2 separate regions of the Homo sapiens genome follow, and region 2 is linked to region 1. Evidence: promoter capture Hi-C in human tissues and cell types (Jung and others, 2019). All regions are on one chromosome and are shown on one strand. The core of a region is centred on a gene start or on the middle of the fragment in contact, and the rest is flanking DNA. Distances in the headings are between cores, read along the strand shown.

Region 1 (7,778 bases), core at 2,487-4,986:
CACACACACACACACACACACACACACACGAATTGCTCTGCCTGGCCCTTTGTGGTTGGTTTAATCGGACGTTGTGGCAACCACCACCGTTGAGATGGTGGATGGGCCGTGGAGATGGTGGATCCACCTGGGTTCCTGAGATACTCTGATAAGCAAACCTGTAAGAGATATGTACCTGGAGCAAGAAATAAATCTGTGCTGTTTTAAAGCACTGAGATTTTTATGTTATTTAACAGTGCAGCATAACCAAGGATAACCTAGCTAAAATACCTGAATAGTGGGAAATGAAAAGAAACGAGTGAATTTAAGATGGTATGAAGTAAATCTAACAGGACATGCTTTCCATGTATGTCATAAATACCTTTTTAGTATTTGATTTGCCTTTTTTATGTGATGTTTTGACATATGAAATTTTTAACATTTTTACAGACACATAAACTTTAGTATTATATTTGCTTTTTTATTTTTATGCGATGTTTTGACATATGGAATTTTTAACATTTTATGTAGACACATACATATGCCTTTATGCTAACTTTCTGTATTTTTAGGTTTAAAAAAGTACATTTCCACATTTTCTTTATCCATTCATCTTGTTGATGGGCACTTCCACAAAAATTTTTTTTTAATGTTAAGTAAATTTCCCACTCTGAGTGATGACAAAGTGACAAAGATTCACTTATATTTTCTTTATAACGCGATAGATCTGACATTTGTTTTGATATAAGCTGTGAGATACTGTTCAAACTTCTCAAATACGTAACCAGTCATTTCATTATCAATGATTCCATAAATATTTCTTTCTCCACTAATGCAAAATACCACCTTTATTATATACTAATTCCTCGTGGATACTTGGATTTGTTTCTCAGCTTTGCCATTTGTCCTACTGATGTATCTACCAATTCTTACATCTGAAAAAGATTGCTTTAATTATTAAAGCTTTATAGTAAGCTTTTATATCAGGCAGGTTAATTGCTCTCTTCCTACTGTTCTTTTTTTTTTTTTTTTAGTTTTTCTTGGCTGTTTTCACCTGTTTGCCCCTACTATTCTACTATAAATATTGAAATATTTTTTCTATTAATATATTATTTTTCTAACAAATCCTTACACAAAGATTATGAAAGTGATACCCTTTTCATAATATCTAGTGATGCTCATTTTGACAGTTTGGTATACATTCTTCTAGATATTCCAGTGCCTATACAAACATACAAAACCATGAATACTTCAGAGTTAGTGTCAAAAATTTTTTTCAATTTAAATGGTAGAAAGCCAAATAAAATTGACTTAAAAATTAAAAAATGAAATTTGTTGATGTAACCAAAAACACTTTATCTGGATAGCTCCAGGCAAGACTTGCTTCAGAAATTCAAATATCCTCAGGCTGCAGTCTTGGACATTGGGGTTTTCCAAAAGTCCAAACTTCATTAGACCTCAGTCTTCCTTTCTTCCTCTCTTAACTTCTCTCTGGGCTATTTTCACTCATTCAGTGGCATCAGAAGCCCCAGATATAAACACTCAAAATTCTATCAGGAAAAAAGAGCATCTTTAAGTATCCCAGTTAACAGATCAGTACACCCACCTGCAGCTGCTATGAGTATTGGCTGCTAAGAGCTCACAGCTCTCCTTCTCTGGAGAATTGCCATTAGCTAAGGGATCCACTTTTCCCAGAATGCCTGGGAAGTCACACCACTTGGAGGCAGCCCACAGTCAATGGATGGTTGGTGTGGGCTGCAAAAAGCCAAATCCCTTGTCTGGAGGCAGAACTAGGCCCATGGCATAATTCACATTCCAGAGTTACTCTAAGAATCAGGCCAAAGCTAGCCTCCAGCTGAAACTACATCCTACATCTTTGCTTAGCTATTTCCTGTTTCATTCACTCCCTTACAGGTTTCTCCTTCAAGCACTCCCTCAGTGAGGCACTTGCCCAAAATTCTGTCCCGGGTCTTTTTTTAAGGAAGCTAACCTAAGATGCATCTCTTCCCAAAAGTCCAAACAGAAGTTCTGGAGTGAGGCCGGGCACGGTGGCTCATGCCTGTAATCCCAGCACTTCTGGAGGCCGAGGCGGGCAGATCACTCGAGGTCAGGAATTCAAGACCAGCCTGGCCAACATGGTGAAACTCCGTCTCTACTAAAACTACAAAAATAAGCTGGGCGTGGTGGCACATGCCTGTAGTCCTAGCTACTAGGGAGGCAGAGGTGAGAGAATCGCTTGAACCCGGGAAGTGGAGTTGCAGTGAGCCAAGATCATGCCATTGCACTCCAGCCTGGGCGACAGAGCAAGACTCTGGTGAAATGCTTAACAATAACAATAACAATATTAAAGATAACAATAGTAATGATTATGTTATACATCAAAGCACTCTAGATCCCCCAATGTGTCAAAAGGAAGGAAGGTAATATCTACTGTATAGTCACCCCATTCTACAAGTTCCCCAGGGGATGTTGAATGGAATATTCTTATTACTGGCATATTCCTTCACCCTGTCCCAATTACCACTCTACCTTCTATACCATTCCAGGAAGTATTAGAATACACTACATATACTCTTACCACACAGTTATTTCAATAGATATTTAATTATAGGAAATAATAAATATTGTCCAAAAATGTATTGGAAGGTAGAATTTCTTGTGCTAACTGCCAGGAGTCCTGATCTGTGGCTGCCACCCTTCTTTGTAATATATTCTTGTATCAACTGGCATCTGGCATCTGCAATTATGAAAACCACCCTAGTTCGCCTGAATGCTTGCTAATTTTCAAAGGTTTTTTATCCCAGCCATGTTACTTAGAAGCAAACAGAGCACATGGCCTCTTTGAGATTTCTTCTGCTGGAAAAGTTCTGATCCTACAATAAAAAGCTGATGAAAGCTTATAGGACACAGAGAGGTTCTACTGAATCAGGAACCAAGTTATTAGTAGGAAGAAAGATAGGTTCTCCAGGAACCCACAATCCAGCAGAGGAGATGAGACTATTCACTAAAGAATAACTATGAACACTGTAAGACAAGTGGAGTTCAGTGCCAAATTATGTGGTTCTAACAAAGAGATCATGGGTTTCAGAGACGAGGGAAGAGACAAGAGCTGGAGTGGTTAGAGAGTTGACCATGGAAACCCTGGAAATAGATCTTTAAGGAAGGTGAGCTGACAAGCTCCTCAGTATAGACATGAATGAAGTATGTTTAGACCACACCAGACTCATACCTTCCTGAGCCAATAATCACTCTTCCTTGAAATTCTGAGCAGACAATGCAGCCAGGTTTCAGCCCCTGATATGGGACTTGACATCAGGACTAAGGATGAGTGTGTTGTAAAGAGAACTTTACCAGGAGTCCTAAGATCTGAGTTCCAGTCCTGATATTACCACTGAGTAACTTTGGGAATGGTGAGCCAGTGGCAAAGAAAAACCAAGTTCATTCCCAGCAGAGTCTGCAGTTGAGCTTTGAGACAAACAAGGCTTACGAGTTTTCATGAGCTCCCATAAGATTTGTTTTTATTCTCTCAGAAGTGTGCAGAAGCTGAGATAATGAGCCTCTGCTGAAGTGTGGTCTCCCTGACCGGGCCGGCTATTCTCTGGAGTCCCAGGGGCTGTCCCAGGTCCTGATTCATGATTCAAGGAAAACCACTGAGATCACTGCATCCCTCCCATAAAACTATCCCCAAAGGCAATTTAAATATCCCACTGGTTTGCTTAGTAAGAAGAAAACCTAAAGTCAGTCAGCTACATACGTCTATTTGAGCAATCTTAGCTGCTTTCTACAAAATGCTTAAACAACCTTAGCTTAGCTTGACTACAAGGCCAAGATAAATCCAACTGAATTATTCCACCAGGTAATTAAGACTTAATTATTACCTTGGCTCTGAAGTAAGGTCCACACAAACTAGAGAAGGTGTAACTGGGCAGAGAATCTTGCCTTTGTCATCAGAAGTTGTCATCTGATAGGACCATGACCAGACTGGGATTTCAGCTCTTATGTGAAATATACAAGTAAGACTGGATCAGCTTTTTTTTGGGGGGGGGGCGGTGGGTAAGGGGGGAATCTACAGCTTTAATCTCTTTGGGCTTTTGTGTCACTAAGTAGATTTCAGAAAATATAAATAGTTTCATGTGGGAGGCGTGGTACTAGACTGCAGAGCTTAGACAAGATATTTTCCTGTAAATGACTCTACTTTCTGTAATTATGCTGGAGTAGAATTAGTCATATGTACTAGGACTCTGGCTTTGGAATAAGACAGACCTGGATTAGACTCCAGGCTTTTTCATTGACTAGTCATGTGACCTTGGACAAGGTACTTAACTATTCCGAGTCCTAGTCTCTTCCAGGACAAAATAATACCTTTTTTGTAGGATCATTGTATGAATTATATGAACTAATGTGTCTACAATGCATAGTATTGTGATCAGCGCAGAGAAGATGTTCGATAAATGGTTGCCAGGATTAGGAAAAGCAGCACAGCGTGTTGATTCAACACTCCAACTCTGGGGTCAGAGAACCAGGGTTAGAATTTAAACATATTTTCTTTCTAGCTGTGAAACCTCAAGCAAAACATCTAATGTCTCTAAACCTTCATTTCCTCATCTGTAAAATAAAATATTTCTCTCTCATTATGTTATTGTCAAGTTGAAAGGAAATAAAAGCCTTTAAAGTGCTTAGCATCTACCTGACTTGGAGCAAGAGCTCAGCAAATGTTAACAACAATATTTCAAGACACTGATTTCAGTAAGGTGAGAAACATTAACTTTGTTGAGCTCCTTCACCCTCCCCAAGGGACTCAATCTTTGGAGGAAAATGAAGAAGAGTATGGAGAACATCCCAAGTTAAAGTAAGTACAAGTGTTAGGGACCATCTCTTCTGTAAAGGGTTCCTCCTGAATTAGAGGAGTCTTTTTCCCTATCCCCTCCAGAGGTCACATATTCTTTTATGTCACATATTATAATTTAAATATATCACAAGTAATAATATCAACCTATAAATGTTCCTAGGCTTTCTTAAAAGAGTCACTGGCCATAAACCGTTGCTTTCCCTTTCATAAACTGTCCTGGGTTCGGGGAGTTGGTTGTTTCTCTCTACTCTTGGCCTCACCCAAGCTGATGGTACCCCAATCTCCTTCTTAAACAAGATCACACAAAACTGGGTGTCACCAGTCTGCTCCTAAAATTTTTCCCTCTGGGAAATATTTTGGAAATTGCCTGTCTGAAAAATAAGCAAGCTCTACCATATTAGATAAACATCCATTCTATTTCAAGAATCGTTACTATATTCTCATTTTATTATTGAAAAAATTGAGGTTCCAATTGGTTGAGCAGTTTTCCAAGGGTATATCAAGAGGGATATGGTCCAACTAAGTCTCTCTCAAGTTATAAAGAAAGAAAAAGAAGAAAAAACATGGACCACAAAGAACTCCAACATCAATCTTTATACTTGATGCCCACAGAAGTTGAGTATTTGCCTAATGGTTTTAGAGAGGCGCTTTGATTTTAAAGGTTTGGGGCTTGGATCTGCATAAAGGGTCTTTCTCATGCCCTAAAAAGAGAACATGATAAGATGGAAAGAATACAGAATTTGGAATTAGAATGTCCTAGGTTCAAATGTCTGTTCTGTTCCTTCCTAGGTGTATAATAAGTTGGACAACCTTCTTAACTTCTCTGAACTCTGCTTTGTTCATCCATAAAATAGTCATAGCTATACCCAACTTGGAGGGCTTCAGGAAGGACTAGAGCTAATGTATGAAACAGGCCTTGCATGCATGTGCCACAAACTCAGTGTGATTGCATCTGCACCCCAACAATCTGCCACCTAATCTCTGGTCAGGAGCCTTGAACAATTGTGTCTCTAATCAGAGAGACCCCCAGGAATTAGCCATGAGATAGATGTAATATGACCTACAACAATTTCAGAAGTAGATACTGAGAAAGGTGTTGAAATTAACCAAGTTATCTCATGATTTGAAGGTAAAAAAGCTCTGATTAACTGCAGGGAGATTTCTTTGTTTCCATAGATTATAAAGATATAGGAAAATGGAGGGAGACAACAAAACAAATTTATAGCTGAAAGCAGAGGATTTGCCATCAACTAACTCTTCTGCTTCTACTTTCACTTGGAGGTAATTTTAGACAAATTAATCTCCCAAAGATTTAAATTCCTCATTGGTAAAAATAAGGTCATAATATCTGCTTAAAGGGCTGCTTTCAGAATTAAATAATATATGCAAAGCACTCACAGTCTCTAGTAGAATTGATAAGTAAAATATGTTATAAGCATACCAAGCAAGACCATAACAAAATCCGAAAAAAAAAACAAAATTTACCACAATTACATAAACAAATCACAAAAATACGGTGTATGCTAAAAAATGAGATTTATGTCACAATATCATGTACACAAATTTTAAAACACACCACAGCCACTATATTTTAATATACATATATTTCTAAATAAATATGAAAAGAATAAACATAGAAGGATATGTATTTTGAATACACTGGAGTGCACACTTAAGAGGAACAGGGGAAGGAGTAAGAATGAGGCAGGACTAACAAAAATAATAAAATAAAATAAAATGAAGAAGAGCCTTGCCCTGACCAATGATGATGGTTTATCAGGAACTGAGGAGTAAAGGCCATTCAATTTTCTACCTAAGGCCCCAAAATATTATGTTTAAGTAACTATAAATCACTTGAAATAGTGCCTGCATTGCTTTATATACTCAGTATTTAGTAGATACAGAGCCTAAATACCTAGACATATAAATCATGGATTGTGAGAAACAAAAGATTCAGTGGTCATATAACCTAGCTCTGCCATTTCATAGAATAGAAAGCGAAGTCCATGTTGAAGGGAAAATAAACGTTTGAAGTTTACTCAGCTAGTGAGTGCCTGTCATAGAGGTGACAACCACAGAGCTTGAACCATACCATGAAGGCCTTCCAAAGAAGCTGACTCGTCCCCAGACCCTGCTGCTGGAGCAAGGTGGATGGAATAGCCCTGGGACATGTTTGACGTGATCTGTCAATGTCTCTCTCCCACTAGGACCCTGATTAGAGCTGAAGTAAGCTCCAGACCCAAGAACAGCTACCATGAGCCCTTTCATGAAAGTGTGTGCTGCTTGTCTCTCTCTACCCATGTAGTGAATAAAGCAGTCACAATGATTCTAGAGATGGGGCCTCATCACAAGTTCAAAACCTCTTCCTGGCAGGTCCCAGTGGAATTAGACCTTAGGTGAAAGAGAAGTAAAAAAAGGGATCCCATGGAAGCCAGAGGACCTGCCTGTTATCCCCAAGTCTGCAAATAGCTAATTATTTGACTTTTGGACAAGTCATTAACCTCTGTCAGTTGTCTCAATGCCAAAATAATGACAATATCAATCAAGTCAACTTTACAGGGGTGTGGAGGCAATCACAGACATTTATGGATATAAAATGTATGAAAGAAGGTAGAAAGAGGTATTATGATGAGTTTTTACTACTATGGATTTTATCAAAAATAGCAATCCCCATGTTGCCACAGCAAAGAAAATTCCCAGTTGTGCTACAAGGAAAAGAGTTTCTTAACAATCTAATTTCTATATTCATGGCTTCATCAAACATAGTTCTAGATTCAAGGACTCTGAATTGGCAGATTCCAACCTGAGGAAGTTGGGGGTGTAAGATTAAGGAGGCCAGGCAAATGGTTCAAGGGGAGCAGTGTAGGATAATGGAATCTGGAGACTTGGTTGTGGATCCTGGCTCCTCTACATGTGGGTCAACGGATGGTTTCATTTCTCCAATCTCCAC
Region 2 (7,778 bases), core at 2,328-4,827, 37 kb before region 1:
AACTAATAGGAGTTACTTCTGGGCGAGAAGATTGGGAAACAGAGGTAAAAGAAAGGAGCCACTCTCCCTTTTTTACTTTGCATGTATCCTTTCATTTTATTGTAACAAAAATGTGTTATTTTTGTAATAACCCCAATTAAGTCTTTAAAAGAAAGAGACTACCTAAAAATATAAATCATGGGAATTGATAAAATGCTAACAAAAATATGTGAGAATCCTAGGCTGTGCACTCAATGTATTTAACCAGATCCCATCTATTGCAATAAAAAAAGTTAGTAGCAATCATCATTATCATCGTTATATGGTTAGTCCAAGGAGACTTTTTGGTGACCCACCGTCTCTGCCTCTTTCCTGCAAGCTGAAAGACATCGGAGAAGAAATTTGTAAATGTAGAGAAACCTGGGTAGCAGTTTATCATTTTCCTGTGCTGAATAAACAGCAGAATTCCTTTGTTCAATCTGATAACTTTTGAAGGTACATAATTTTGTAAATGTCAAATCCTCAGATGAAGGAATTTCCCAAAAGATATGCTCACTGAGGTACTTGGGAGCGGGAAATGTCTTTAAAGTATTACTCAATCCAGTGCCTGGGGTCAAAGAACATATTTTAATCCCTCCTTGGCACTGCTAACGATACCTGGCCCCTTCAGTCAATAAATACTCATTTACTGTCCAACGAGTGTCAGATAGTGGACTGGAAGTGCAGGAAACAGCAGGGAGCAAGTTTCACATGGATCCTGCCCTATTGAAACCTTTAAGGCCCATTGGGGAAAACAGACATCAAACAAGTAACAATAAGTGGTTTGTGCGCTTCCAAAAAACAGCAGAGAGGGTACTGCAGGAGCAAACAATTAGCCAACTTAGTCTATTTGGGGAATCAGAGAACAGCTCAGTAAATGTCTACAGAATTTATTAGAGGGCTCTGAATGTGGGAGAGACTGTTGCCTAAACAGTCCCTTCACAAAAGGGATCAAGGAGTCATGAAGCCACAGGAGGTAATATTAAATGATCAGGGACAGTTTTAAATAGAACTTCTGGAAGAAACACAATTTATCTTTCACTCTGTAGGCATTAAGCGTGTGTTAGATGCCAGGAACCATGATGTATGTGTCTAACCTGCAGGAGTACATTCACTCACTTGTCATTTAGTCCACAAATATTCACTGGGCACTTATTATCTTCCAGGGACTGCTTTAGGCATGGGGGCACAGGGGAGAACCCTGCTCCTATGAGCTTGCATTCTTGTGGAGTGACAGAAAATAACACAAAAGGAAAACATATATTATATCAGATAGTGGTGTGCTATGCAGAAAAATACAGCAGAAAAGAAAGTTAAGGAGGTTGCTATTTTCAATAGGGTTATCAGAGAAAGCCTCATTAAAAGGTAATAAGTGAGCAAAGATTTGAAGGAATCAAGAGAGAAGAGAGCAAGTTATACAGACATCTGGAGGGATAGCATGCTAGCAGAGGGAACAGCAAATGCAAGGGCTCTGAGGCGAGACCATGCCTGGTGTGTTCAAAGGACAGTAAGGAGTTCAGAGTCTAGCAGAAAAAACAAGCATGCGACCAAGGAACTATTTTATAATTCAATTTGACAAGTGACGATGCAAGAATTTTTTGCTCATTAATTAAGAGCAGCCATGGCAAAATTCTAGTGTTGGACTACCGAGAGAATGTTTGATATTGCTGAAAGCACCTGGGCAGCAAGGTCAATGTGAAACAGTCACTGTGCACATGACAAGTAAAGAAGGTTTGCTTTGGCAGCATTGGGATGGGTGTGGACCAGGTGAACCTGATCAGTTTCCTCACCTGAAACCCATCTCACCTTTCCCTGAAGAATCTCTTTACCTCCTTGTTCATTGTTCTCTGTCTGCTCATGACCCCTGCTCTTTCACTGATTGTAATCTTAAGGTGAGGATATAGAAAAAGAGCACCGCATGGGCAACCAGACACGTGGTTCTTCATTCCCACCGCCTGCCCCATCCCCACCACCATCCTTGACTAGCTATGTGGTCCCAGGTAAGTCTCTTATCACTCTGGCCTTCCATATCATCATCCGTTTTTCTTATTAACTCCTCAAAGCAATATGAAATAATCATAATTTGGCCACCTAAAGACAGGAACGTGGAAGGATTTAATTTTATCATTCTCTTCTCCTCCTCTTTCCCTTCCCATAAATCCCTACATGCGCATCCCCCCAACCCCTGCAAGCCGAGACAAGGTGGGGGAATATCCTCTGTCTGCAGGCTCCGGCTCCAGCGTAAGACTCTACTAGTTTGTTTTGCCCCAACACTGTCATAGCCAATCCGTGGCCAGTGTGGGTCTCCAAGGAGAGATTACTGCTGATATTGGGATTATTTATATGCAAATAGCCCCTTTCATGTAGGAAAAGAGAAGGTTTCTCTTCAATCTCCATTTCTAAAAGCTGTACACCCAGTTGGGCCATCGCTAAGAATGGTTAAGGGAGCCTGAATTCTAGTTCTGACTTGTCCCATGAGGAATCATTTATCTTCCAAGGTCCAGTTTCCTCAGTCAGAATAATGTCATGAATCACAGGCTCTGCCACCCTCGCCAGCTGTGTCCTGGGAGAACGGCCCCCTGCCCAGCTATTTACCTAGAATAGGTAGAATGGAAACTGATCCACCTAGGAAAAGGCAAGGCCCATTGTAGCCTCTAGTTTGCCCTCCCTGGAATCAGGCACTTCATCAAGTTTGTCCTTTAATCTTTAACACAAAGAAAACCTTAGGGAAAAATAACTAGGACAAGTGCACTGCCCAGAGAAGCAACTGGCACAGACAGCAAGTTGGCATGACCTTTACCAGCTCTCTGCAGCTGAGAAATTGTGGTAATTATTCTTAGCATCTGCACATGCATTTTTTATGAGTCTCAAAATGTCCAGACAAGAAAAAGGAAGAGAGCAAGGTCAGGAGGAAACTCCTTTGACAAAGGTGGAGCCAGGAAGGGGACAGGTGGGGACCATCTGCACATTCAATCATTTCTCATTTTTGATTAAGAAAGGTGGTCTAGAGACCAGGGCTGAAATTTATACACACACAGATACACACACATATTTCCTGCCTTCAAAAATTTTATACTTTACTGTTAGAGGTAAGCCATATATGTAATCAATCATTCCCATACCAGGATAAAATTCAGGGGAGATGATTTCCAAGGAAGTGGCATTTGAGCTGAACCTTAAAATTAAAATTTGAGCAAGATACTTAAAATTGCACATTCCCTATTCTTCTGACCCTGGCTTCATTTTCACCATAGGAATTGTCACCTTCTAACATAACATATGATGTACTTATTGTATTTATTGCCTATCTGATTCACCCCTCTGTAAATTCCAAACAAAGCTTCTCTCTCACTTTCTTTCCACCCCATCTTTCTTACTAGAGAAAGAGACAAAGAAAGAAAACTTGCTAAGCTCTTATATTTACAGGATACCTTTGACCTTTCAGAACAATGTCCCTTCCATTTTGTCCTCAGAAGAGCTCTGCGAAGATCCGAGAATATGTGATTCTCCCCATTCTGCTGAAACAGTAACAAAGACATGGGGTAGGAGGGATGAAGGTTACCCAAGGTCACTCACCTGACACCCACCAACTTTACAGAGATGTCATTAGTCTCTCACCTGGCATATAGGAAGCACTCAAAATATATGAATTATTATTTCATTTTTCTTATGTCACATTTTTTCAGAAAGAAGGTATTAAATAACCTTCTTAGTATTACCAGCTGGTACTGTAGTGAACATTGTTCTCACTCCTCTGCCTTTGCTGCTCTTTACAGCGTCAGAAAATAAAATCACCCTTCCCTTAGTGCCCTACCTTTTCCAAAGACCCAGAAAGGTTTTCTTCCAACTACCATAGCGTGGCATAGACAGCTTCACCAATACAAGGCTCCCTCCTATTCCTCGCTCTGAAACAATTTTAGCAGCATGGATTCATTAACCACAACCTTGCTACTGTTGCAAGTTAGAAAGCCTGAGTTTCAACACTGTGAAAACCCATTATTAGAGCGAGTCTCCTTCCATGTATGATTACAGATAATACATTCAAACAAAACGTAACATTTCCAAAAGATGAAAGGTGATTTTCTCAGAGAAGTTAGGACATTTTTACTTATAATGACTTCTTGTTACTCGTAATGAATGACAATAATGGTATGTTAGCATGTTACACAGTTACAAAGAAGGTGAGTGTAACTGTTAGGAACCTTCTTCAAGAACTCCTTTGTTTTCTTGTTTCTCTAAAATATAAATCAAAAGGTTCCACACAGGAATGGCATGAGTAAGCTATTTAGCCACCTTAACCAAGTCAGTGTGATCAGTATCCAGTTGCCAATTAGCACCTACGTGGAGCTCTATACATGCTTTAAGGAGGCGAGGAAAGCTCTGAGCAATGCTATTTTGAGGAACCTTGAGCTTGCTGTTGCTTTCTGGAGAAACAAGGAGGTTCTGATTAATTGGATATAACAGTTTGGACTCTCTAGTTTCAAGTAACAAAAATCAACCAGAGGGCCGGGTGCGGTGGCTCACGCCTGTAATCCCAGCACTTTGGGAGACCCAGGTGGGAGGATCACCTGAGGCCGGGAGTTCGAGACCAGCCTGGCTAACAGAGCGAAACCCCATCTCTACTAAAAATACAAAAATTAGCCAGGCACCTGTACTCCTAGCTACTTGGGAGGCTGATGCAGGAGAATCGCTTAAGCCCAGAAGGCAGAGGTTGCAGTGAGCCTAGACAGTGCCATTGCACTCCAGCCTGGGTGACAGAGTAAGGCTCTGTCTAAAAAAAAAAAAACAGAATAAGCCTGAGCAAAACAAAAACAAAAGGAAATTTATTATAAGGATATGTGTATCCAGAAGCCAAGCCACGATTACAGCTGGGCTGAAGATTTCCCACTGGAAATCCCGTGAGAATTCAGGCAGTATTTTCTGTCCATCTATTACGCCATTGCCTCATTCTTCTCTCTCTCTCTGTCTCTTTCTGTCACTGAAGATCAGAGCCTTCTACCTACTCTGCCTTGTAGAACATTTAAGCCCACAGTTCCCAAGTTTAAATGTTTTTGGTTCAGTCACATATATAACTCTTTTCTTTTTTTTTTTTTTTTATACTTTACGTTCTAGGGTACATGTGCACAACATGCAGGTTTGTTACATAGGTATACATGTGCCATGTTGGTTTGCTGCACCATCAACTCGTCATTTACAGTAGGTATTCCTCCTAATGCTATCCCTCCCCCAGCCCCCGACCCCAGACAGGCCCCCAGTGTGTGATGTTCCCCGCCCTGTGTCCCCTATTCAACATAGAGTTGGAAGTTCTGGCCAGGGCAATCAGGCAAGAGAAAGAAATAAAGGGTATTCAATTAGAACTCTTAACTCTCTCCATTCACTTCCAAGTTCCCAGGAGATTACTCTAGTTGGCTTGATTAAGTTAAGTGAAATCTCTTGTTCGGTCTACTTGTGACCATGAAGTCGCTGTCATATATTACAAAATGGTTGTTGAGGATTTCATTATTGTAGACTATGGTGGGCGTGAACTTGCTACATTTCAGTGATACCAAGAAGGCCAGTGTGGATAAAGCAGAGAGTGCTAGGGAAAGCTATCTCAAACTTCACATATTCAAAGAAGAACTCGTGTTTTCACTTTAAAAATATATATATCAGGCTGGACAATGTAGCAAGACCCCATCTCTACCAAAAACAAGAAATCTTTTTTTGAAATTAGCCAGGCATGGTGGCACATGACTATGGTCCTAGCAATTTGGGAGGCTGAGACAAGAGAATGGCTTGAGCCCAGGAGTTTGAGGTTACAGTGAGCTATGATCATGCCACTGTACTCCAGCCTGGGTGACAGAGCAAGACTCTACCTCTAACAACAACAACAACAACAACAACAACAACAACAACAAATATTCTACTCATTCAGATCAAAATTCTTGGAATCATCTTAGACTTACTTTTTCCTCCTATAGCCCACATTCAATCTGTAGTTATCTATCACTTCGTAATAAATTATCTCAAATCTTAGTGGCTTAAAATTGCAAAAATCATTTATTATCACTCATGGGTTCTCAGATCCAGGATTTCAGTTAGGACATGTCAAGGCCTCAACTGAAATATCCAAGGATTGAAAGTTGAATTAACTGAAGGATCATTTAATCACATGTCTAAAAGTTGGTGCTGCCTACAGCTGAGGGGCTAGCAGAGCTGTTGACCATAACACTCCACACATGGCCTCTTCATGTAGTCTAGGCTTCCTCACAAAATGGTGGCTGAGTTCTACAAGCAAACATTCCAAGTGAAAGTGAGAGCCAGGCAGAAGCCATGTTGCCTTTCATGGCCCAGCCTCAGCAGTCACAGAGCATCATTTCTGCAACATTTTACTGGTTGAACTAGTTATTAAGATCTGCTCAGTTTCAAGAGAAAAGATCATAGACCCCATCTCTTGACGGAGGCATCTATCAATATCTTATTGCAGGAAGAGAACATTGGATGGGATGTAATTTGGTATGAGTATCTTTTAAAAATTAAGTGGGCTACACTATGCATCTGTAAATCCTTTCAAATCTATCTCCAGAAAATATTTTGAACCTGACCTCCATCTTCACTGCTATCATTCTAGACCAGATGACTATCAAATTGTTTTAGACTGTGGCAATTACTTTCAAACTTGTCTGTCTGTTATACTTTCAAATTCTCTTTTGTCAATTCTTCACACAAAGCCAAAATATTCTTTCCCTGTGCTGCCAATGTCCTTTTGAATAAAATTCAAAGTCCCTGAATTGGACTTCATGAATTGACTCATGGTTGGCTGCCTGCAGGAAGAGTGAGATCTGTTAAAGCTTTCTCAATCCCTCCAAGCTACCATCAATCTAATGACTGTTTTTTTTTTTAACTTCTGTAATTCTGTAAGCTGATGCTAGGTGGCTTCTGTATCTTCCCATACGAGGAAGTCCTAGACAAGAATTTGTTTCTATTTAGTTGCTCTCTACAAAACCCTGCAAGAAGCAACAATACTCTTAATATCCTGATATTTAGCCAAGACCCCTAACATCTCCATTTCTGGAGGTATGTGATCTGAGTCTCAGATAATAACAGGTGATGGTAGTTCACCAATTTATTTGCCAGCACATACCAAGAGACAGTTTCAGGACGGGGAAGTCCCCACTGTTCCCATCATTGTCTCAGATGACAACACATTTTTTTTTCTGAAGGTCTTATTTTACACGTTAGTCCTGATACATCTGATTTTTATATTAGTTAAGATATTTGGATGCAAGTATCAGAAGCCAACTCAAGTGACTGTAAGATGTTTAAAAGGGACTTATTGTAAGGACTGGAAAGAATCTCACATAACCCACTGGCAAAAATGCAGCCAAGTTAAGAAAGCACTACTTATTTGTGAAGAGCTATCAGGAACCTAGGGAGTGTTCCTTCCTCATATCTCATTTCTGCTTCTCTCTGCACATTAGCCTCATATTTCTCTATGCCTGAAGAATTGATTCCTTTGCAACCCAGTCCACATGACAGAATGTGGCTAATCACAGTTCCCAATTGTATATAGTACAAGTCCAGCCCCTTAGAAACACCAGTCTTTCATAGTTCCAATTCCAAATTCCTGCAGAAGGGTCTCAAACTAGCCCATCTTGAGTCAGGTGGCCTCTCCTGTTTCAGTGAACTATGGCCTGGAAGATGGAACCACCTTGGTCATAAGGTTCCCATTTCTTTCCTTTGGCTATGATGTATCCACTGCTGAAAGTAGAGGCATTCAA

The links. The method cuts DNA at HindIII sites, captures the fragments that hold promoters and counts their contacts. A contact is called where the count stands out against the background at its distance.
Region 2: a fragment that was not itself captured here is called in contact with the fragment with the promoter of OR9I1 in region 1 in 3 of the 25 tissues and cell types used here (neural progenitor cells, ovary and stomach).

The regions. Positions count from the first base shown.
Region 1 is chr11:58,121,488-58,129,265 of GRCh38, reverse strand. It overlaps OR9I1 (olfactory receptor family 9 subfamily I member 1), which reads left to right and starts at 3,736. Exons shown (of 3, transcript NM_001005211.2): 1 at 3,736-3,992; 2 at 4,627-4,828. All of the region lies in intron 2 of OR9Q1 (olfactory receptor family 9 subfamily Q member 1), which reads right to left. The HindIII fragment of the contact is 9,927 bases long and covers 1,916-7,778 here.
Region 2 is chr11:58,158,576-58,166,353 of GRCh38, reverse strand. The region is part of intron 2 of OR9Q1 (olfactory receptor family 9 subfamily Q member 1); the gene reads right to left. Among named protein-coding and RNA genes, the nearest start is that of OR9Q2, 27 kb to the left of the region's middle. The HindIII fragment of the contact is 7,939 bases long and covers 1-7,546 here.